3 separate regions of the Homo sapiens genome follow, and regions 2 and 3 are each linked to region 1. Evidence: promoter capture Hi-C in human tissues and cell types (Jung and others, 2019). All regions are on one chromosome and are shown on one strand. The core of a region is centred on a gene start or on the middle of the fragment in contact, and the rest is flanking DNA. Distances in the headings are between cores, read along the strand shown. Region 1 holds the start of CASQ1 (calsequestrin 1). Region 2 overlaps COPA (coat protein complex I subunit alpha). Region 3 overlaps KCNJ10 (potassium inwardly rectifying channel subfamily J member 10).

The links. Contacts are between HindIII fragments. The study calls those that stand out against the background at their distance.
Region 2: a fragment that was not itself captured here is called in contact with the fragment with the promoter of CASQ1 in region 1 in 1 of the 25 tissues and cell types used here (bladder).
Region 3: a fragment that was not itself captured here is called in contact with the fragment with the promoter of CASQ1 in region 1 in 1 of the 25 tissues and cell types used here (small bowel).

The regions. Positions count from the first base shown.
Region 1 is chr1:160,189,215-160,191,914 of GRCh38, forward strand. It overlaps CASQ1 (calsequestrin 1), which reads left to right and starts at 1,361. Exons shown (of 11, transcript NM_001231.5): 1 at 1,361-1,816. The coding sequence starts at 1,538. The HindIII fragment of the contact is 26,832 bases long and covers 1-2,700 here.
Region 2 is chr1:160,319,005-160,321,704 of GRCh38, forward strand. The region is part of intron 8 of COPA (coat protein complex I subunit alpha); the gene reads right to left. Among named protein-coding and RNA genes, the nearest start is that of COPA, 23 kb to the right of the region's middle. The HindIII fragment of the contact is 4,225 bases long and covers 1-2,700 here.
Region 3 is chr1:160,044,766-160,047,465 of GRCh38, forward strand. All of the region lies in intron 1 of KCNJ10 (potassium inwardly rectifying channel subfamily J member 10), which reads right to left. Among named protein-coding and RNA genes, the nearest start is that of PIGM, 14 kb to the left of the region's middle. RefSeq lists an enhancer at 894-1,188. The HindIII fragment of the contact is 8,881 bases long and covers 1-2,700 here.

The DNA.
Region 1 (2,700 bases), core at 111-2,610:
AACACCACTGTCCCTCTAGAATCAGAGATACCTCAGGGTGCAGTGGCAGCATGTGACTTTGATCTGACCCTCTATGGTCTCCCTCATGCCTCAGTTTACCTGTGCATAGTAAGAACCCTGGAGGGCCATGAAGAGGATCCTTCCTTCCTACGTATCCAGAGTTAAACTCACTACTCTGTCCTCACCCCCCAAGCTGGATCCAGAAGTTTAAGCCCCTACCCGCCCATCTCTGCTTTGGATCTCGGGTGCACAGAATTAATCATCAGTCTTGGTTCAGGGCACAGGGTTCACCTCTTCATGCTTGCCTAATGTTAATTTTTTTTTGCCCTGGTGTCAATACCTGATCCTCTTTGTCTTGTCAAAGACATGGGAATAAATAGTAGCTATTCACTCTCCTTGGAAGCATGCAGCCTGGGAAAACCTCCCTTCCCACTGTGCCCCAGAAAACCGAGTCCCATAGGATCAGGGTAGGGAGTGCACACACAGGTGGCAACCAAAGGACAGACCCCTTCTCATTGTGGGCTTTATAGGCAGAGAAACCCCAAACCCACATCTCTACAGGACAGGATCTGGGCCAGCCCTGTCCTTCCCTGCATTCCCAAGTTAGGAGTGCTGAGTGAAGCAAAGGAAACTGGCTGGAGCTGAGCCAGGTTGCCAGTCTTGGACGCGGCTCCATCTTTTATTCAGAGAATGACCTCATCCTTGGTCCTGGTTCTTTAAAAGAAAGTGGAGGGGGTCTCTTTCCTGCAGCCTGGCTTGCACTTTTATCGCCCCACTCTCCTACATAGTATCAAAGAATCAGAATCAGACTTCACCTACAGAAGATTCCCAGGCTTTAGGACATAGAGCCAATACCACATTTGTCCCCCTTTTGTCCTATATTATCAATTTAGCCTCTGACCCAGTTAGCTCCTCCTCTCCACTGCATTTAACTTCTAATTACCCTTGCCCCACCCTCGGCCCACCCTAATTACCCTTATACCTCCCCTCCCCCAGCCCCAGCTTCATTTACCTCCGACTCATCTGGTCTTATTTTTAGCTCCGGCATCTCTCCTTTTCCTTTCTTAATATGGCGATGAGCTCTTAGGCCAGTGTGGGGACCGGGGCTGAGGTGCCCTGGACACTGGAGGAGGGGGAGGGAAGGAGCCCCTGGGAGCCTGGGGTAGAAGTGTAGGAGGTGGGAGGATTCCGGCCCGCATGGAGCTGTCCTGGCCTCAGAAGGTTATCCGTCTCTCCTGCCAACCATGGAGACATATTTAGACAGGACCAGGTGGGGACTGAGGGGTGCCAATTTCAGGGGGCAGCTCCGGTTCCCTCCCCGCCCCCTGCTCCTATTCCTCCACCTGACCCTTTTTCCCTTGGCTCTGTCGGCAGTTTCTCCAGGACCCAGCAGTGCCCTCTGTCCACTGCTCTGGGCCATTCCCCAATCCCCCCTCCCACTTGAGCCCCTAACTCAGAATCTGGGACCCAGGGGCCCCTCCCTACCCCAGCTAACCTCTTCTGGACCAGGAGAGCCAACCCAGATCCCACTACCTCCATGAGTGCTACAGACAGGATGGGGCCCAGAGCTGTGCCGGGTCTGCGGCTGGCACTGCTGTTGCTGCTGGTGCTAGGGACACCCAAGTCAGGGGTACAGGGGCAGGAAGGGCTGGACTTCCCTGAGTACGATGGTGTGGACCGTGTGATCAATGTCAATGCAAAGAACTACAAGAATGTGTTCAAGAAGTATGAGGTGCTGGCACTCCTCTACCATGAACCCCCCGAGGATGACAAGGCCTCACAAAGACAATTTGAGATGGAGGAGCTGATCCTGGAGGTGAGTTGGGGGCACTGCAGGCCTGCAGAGCATGTCTAGCCCCTCTCCGGAATCCCCTATCCTACACCCATGTAGCTCTTTGAGGATGGGATCTGGGGGTGAGGGGCAGTGTGGTAGGAACCCTGTCCTGACCAACAGGATGCAAGTGGCATGTGGCTTTAGTCAAATGAGAAACAGAGTCTCAGGAACCCAAAAGTACTATCAGCGTCAGGAAACCTTTAGCAGGGGTGCTGCAGGAAGAGCTCCCCTCCCTGCTATAGGAGGCTGGTAGTATTTGACTTAGGTTTGGCTAGGACACTGAGGGTGAAAAAGGGAGGTACTTGGAGGGCCAGGGGAGAACAGCAGTGTATATTGCACTCCCCTACCCCACCCATCTGCTTAGCCAGAACACGTCCTCTCCACATACTTCAGGGGCTGCACCCCAAAGAGATCCAAACTGAGTGTAAATGTAAATGTTATGATACTTGCATGCCATGTTTAAATATCTCCTAGAGATCATGCCTCCCATTGGACTCCCAGTCCCCTCTCTCTTCCTTCCCCCTCCCTAATTCCCCATTTGTCTCCATTGGATAAGCTGGATGCCCTCACTGGAAAATTCTTATGGTTGCAGGAGGTGTCAGAATGTCTTCCCCAATCTTCTTTTTGTGGGAAAAGTCTCCTCACCTCCAAAATGACTTCAGGCCCAAAGGAGAAAGAAGTTATCATAAGAAAAGAAAAAAAACCTATGTTTGGGAATGTGTTCATACACACACACCTTTAGGAAATGGGATGTGAGTTTTCTTGTCCAAGCTCCTGTGGCCCCTTCTCTGGCCTCAGCTTGTCCAGAGCTTGGAGCATTTCAGGGTGAGACACCAGAACCACAGGCTCTCATTTTGTGCACCCCT
Region 2 (2,700 bases), core at 86-2,585, 130 kb after region 1:
AGCAAAAAACAGCAGTAATAAGTCCTTGCTTATCAATAATATCACTGAATGTAAATGCTCTCAATTCTTCAATTAAAAGGCATAGAGTGGCTAAACGGATAAAGAGAGAAGACCTAACTATATGCTGCCCTCAAGAAACCCATTTACCTATACAGACACACATAGACTGAAAACGAAGGAGTGGGAGATATTCCATGAAACTGGAAACCAGAAAAGAGCAGGCGTAGCTATACTTACATGAGATAAAACAGACTACCAAACCTAAGATTGTAAAAAGAGACAAAGAAGGTCACTATATAATGATAAAGGGGTCAATTCAGCAAGAGGAAATAACAATTATAAGTATCTGTGCACCCAACACCAAAGCTCCCAAGTATATAAAGCAAACACTAATAGATCCAAAAGGAGAGGTAGACTACAATATGATAATAGTAGGAGAGCTAATACCCCACTCTCAAAAACAGACAGATCATCCATACAGTAAATCAACAAAGAAACAGTGGAGTTAAACTACATACTAGATCTAATAGGCCTAACTGCAATTTACAGAACATTTCACCCAACGGCTACAGAATATTCTTTTCATCAGCACATGGAACACTCTCCAGAATAAACTATACTTTAGGCCACAAAACAAGCTTGAAAAAATTGTAAAAAATAGAAATTATATTAAGTATCTTTTCTGAACACAATAGAACTAGAAATCAATAACAAGAGGAACCTCAGAAAATACAAACACATGTAAGTTAAACAACATGTTCCTGAAAGACTAATGGATCAATGAAGAAATTAAGAAGGAAATTTAAAAATTGCTTGAAACGAATGAAAATGGCAATACAATGTAACAAAATTTATGGGATATGACAAAAGCAGTACTAAGAATGAAGTTTATAACATAAACACCTATGTCAAAAAAAAAAAAAAAAAAAGGAAAGACTCCAAATGAACAATCTAATGATACACCTCAAGGACCTAGATAATAAAAAACAAGCCAAACCCTAAATTAGTAGAAGAAAACAAACAATAAAGATCAGAGCAGAAATAAAATTGAGACTAAAAAAAATACAGACTATCAATGAAACGAAACACTTGCTTTTTGAAAAGATAGTATCAACAAACTGTTAGCTAGACCAACTAAGGAAAAAGGAGAGAAGATCCAAATAAATAAAATCAGAAATGAGAAAGGAAACATAACAACTGAGACCTCAGAAATACAAAGAATCATTAGAAACTATTACGAGAATGACATGCCAACATACTAGAAAACTTACAAGAAATGGATATATTCCTAGACACATACAACCTACAAAGATTGAACCACGAGGCCAGGGATGGTGGCCCACGTCTGTAATCCCAGCACTTTGGGAGGTGGAGACAGGTGGATCACTTGAGGTCAGGAGTTCAAGACCAGCCTGGACAACATGGCAAAACCCTGTCTCTACTAAAAACATAAAAATTAGCTGGGTATGGTGGCACAGCCTGTAGTCCCAGCTACTTGGGAGGCTGAGGCAGGAGAATTGTTTGAACCCAGGAGGTGGAGGCTGCAGTGAGCTAAGATTGCCCTGCTGCACTCCAGCCTAGGCAACACAGCGAGACTCCAACTCAAAAAAAAAAAAAAAAAAAAAAAAGATTGAACCACGATAAAATAGAAAAACTTCTAAAAACCAGTGCCTAGATCAAAGCCTTAATAAAAATTCTCCCATCAAAGAAAAGCCCAGGACCTGACTGCTTTACTGCTGAATTCTACCAAACATTTAAAGAATTAATGCCAATCCTATTCAAACTCTTAAAAAAAAAAAAAAAAAAAAAAAAGGAAGAGGAGGGAATATTTTCAAACTCATTCTATGAGGCCAGCATTACTCTGATAACAAAACCAGGCAAGGACACCACAAAAAGAGAAAACTACAGGCCGATATCACTGATGAACATAGATGCAAAAATCCTCAACAAAATATTAGCAAACCAAATTCAATAGTATACTGATAAGATCATTTACTAAGATCAAGTGGGATTCATTTCAGGGATGCAAGAATGGTTCAATATACATCAATAAACATGATATATCACATTAACAAAATCAAAAATAAAAACCATATGATAGTTAAGCAGATGCTGAAAAAACATTGGATAAAATTCAACATCCCTTTATAACAAAAGTTATTATCAACATGGGTAGAGAAAGAGCATACCTCAAAACAATAAAGGCCATATATGATAAACTTACAACTAATATTACACTTAATGGGAAAAAATTGAAGGCCTTTTCTCTACGGACCAGAAGGCAAGGATGCCCACTTTTACCACTTTTATTCGACAAAACACTAGAAGTCCTGGCCAGGTCAAGTAGGTATGAGAAACAAATAAAGGACAAACAAATTGGAAAAATTACCCTTGTTCACAGATGACATTATCATATACTTAGAAAAACCTAAGACTCAACCAAAATGATAAATTCAGTCCAGCTGCGGGATACAAAATCAACATACAAAAATCAGTAGCATGACCAGGTGCAGTGGCTCATGCCTATAAACCCAGCACTTTGGGAGGCCAAGGTGGGCAGATCACTTGAGGTCAAGAGTTCGAGACCAGCTTGGCCAACATGGTGAAACCTCGTCTCTAAAAAAAGTACAAAAATTAGCCAGGTGTGGTGGTGTGCACCTGTAGTCCCAGCTACTCGAGACGCTGAAGTATGAGAATCAC
Region 3 (2,700 bases), core at 14-2,513, 140 kb before region 1:
GCACTTTGGGAGGCTGAGGCAGGAGGATCACTTGAGATCAGAAGTTCAAAACCATCCTGGGAAACAGCAAGACACCATATCAGCAAAAATTTTTAAAAATTAGCTGGATATGGTAGCACACACCTGTACTCCCAGCTACTTGGAGGCTGAGGCAGGAGGATCACTTGAGCTCAGGAGTTGGAGGCTGCAGAGAGCTATAATCATGCCACTGCACTGCAGCCTGGGCAACAGAATGAGACCCTGTCTCAAAAACAATAATAACCTAATTTTCTTTTATGATAAGGCTACTAAATTGACAAATCGAAGAAGTGCAACAGAGAACGTGTACCTAAACTTCAGGAGATTTTTGACAAGATCTCTCATTATGACCTGGGGATAAGATAAAGAAAAATGAAGAGAATGCTAATCTAATTCGGTGACTTTAAAAATCAGTGGTACTGGTGAGGGGACCATGATAGCCTGGAATTCATTTTCTATTGATACACCAGAGAGCTTCATCTTTGGCCTTGCCCTATTCAATTTTCTTAACATGAACTTCATTCAAAACTATAGAATGCTATGGCCATCAATTGTGTGCCTGACAGAAAGCTGGGACAGATAGCAAATGCAAGAGCTGGGGCAGAATTAGGATCCAAAAGGAGTCAAATAAGTAGGCCAAGTCTAACAAAAATGTTAAGTGCTGGATTATGTACTTGGGTCCAAAAATTACCTGAGCAAGTTCTGGATTGAGAAGATGTGATTTAGCAAAGCAGTACAATATAAAAAAATTAAACATATTAGCAGAAAATAATCCAATATGAGTTATTCATGTGTTTTGATTGCCAAAAAAGCAAACTAATCTTAAGCTCCTTCAGTTGAACTGAAGTCCCTAGAACAAAAAAGTAGTTGATTCTACTCTGCTCTGTTCATCCCACACCTGCAGTATCCAGCATCAAGGAACACTCAGGATATGAGAGGATTCAGAACCAGACCACATGAGAAATGATTGAAGGAAATAGGGAAGTTGATTCAGGAGAAGAGACAATCAGAAAGATATAATGAATGTGTGCAAATATTTGGTTTGAAGGACTATCACGTGATCAAAGGCTTGGACTTGTCCTTTGAGCTCCAAGAGGAACAATCAGGGAGTTCATACTGCAGGGATAAAGATTGCAAGTTGATATTATAAAGAGCATTGTAACAATCAGGAAGGCACTTTGGACAAGCACTTTGCAGAGATCCTATGGCGGAGATAAAAGCTTTGGATGGGAGATTGAAAGACTGTCTTGAAGATTCTGTCTATACCCATGGTGGGTGAGGATGTCTGCCTTCTCCACCCCACTTCTACCCCTGCACTTTCTATGGTGACATTCAGGGATCCTTTACTGAAGTCCTAGCTTTGTTTATGTTGAGGGGAGATTCTACATATCTTGGAGAATGGAAGCTCTTAGGGCCCAAGAAAAGCCTTGCTTATCATTCCCAAAATATTAGTCTATAATTCCTTCTCACTTTAAAATTTATAAAATATATAGTTTGATCCTCACACCATGAGGTAGGTAAGAAAGACACCATAGAAGCTAAGGCTCAGAGAGCTTTGCCCCAAGTAGATTAGTGGTAAAGTTGGAACCAGAATCCAGGTCTCCCAGCTCCTGGTCCAGAACTTTTTAATTGTAGCAACTGCTTTTGTGTGCCCCAGGTTCATTCTCTTGGACCTCATGCTCTCAGCAGGTGCCACTATGGTACGCTGTATGTAAGACCACACATCCCAGGGTTAAGGCTCTAGACTCAAGGGTACTGGAGATTTCGGCCACTGCTAGCCTCTTTGTTGCCTCTGGCTGTTGTGATTGCCACCTCCAGCTGTAGTGCCTGTGGTTGCCAGCCTTTGTATCTGCCACCTCCAGCTGTTATCTGCTGCTCCCAGCTGTTGTGCCACCTCCCACAGCCAGGCAGCTTTGTTCTCTGCGGTGGCCAGAGTCAGAAGCGGATAAACAATCAGCTACACTCCACCCCAAAGCTGGCCAGGCCCCTGGGGAAGGAATCGAGCCAAAGCTCTGGAAATCATCTGTTGCGCACCCCACCACCCCGGGGCACCCCCGCAAAATAAAACATACTCTTTCCTCTAGAGGGTGCTATTTCCCCAAAACAGTCCCAGCCGGCCAAATACCAGAGACAGAATTCTGAAGACCAGCCTGAGTGGCGAAAGAGACAGAAACAGAGATATTCACCTTCTTTCTCCTCTAAGACTGAACTAGTGATCCTTTCCCTAAAACAAAGCCAGTCATAGCTACAGTGATGATCAGCACGTTCCCTCAGCAAGTACCACTCCCACTTACTGCTACCCCCGGAAGTTCTTCCTGAAGCTGTCTTTTTTTGCCTGTGCACTCATTTATTTTACTTGAGAGTCATTTGTTCTACTTGAGAGTCATTTATTCTCCAGGATAATACATGGATTTATCAGGGCCTTTCTTGAGTAAGGACACTGTTGTTCTTGTGACTCTCAATAACTTGATCTGTGGCTCCCCTTTGCTTTTTGCTACTTCGCTCCTGGGTTTCTCTTCCTCAAATACACTTCTGACTAGAAAGAGTGCTTCAACCTCCTCCCAGGGACAGCAGGTACAGGGGAAAGAGAAAAGCTGCACCAGCAGGGAAAGTGCTTTATCTGTTTTCTCTGTAGCCTCTCAGCACACCATTCATGATTTGGTCTCTGCCTACTTCTGACTT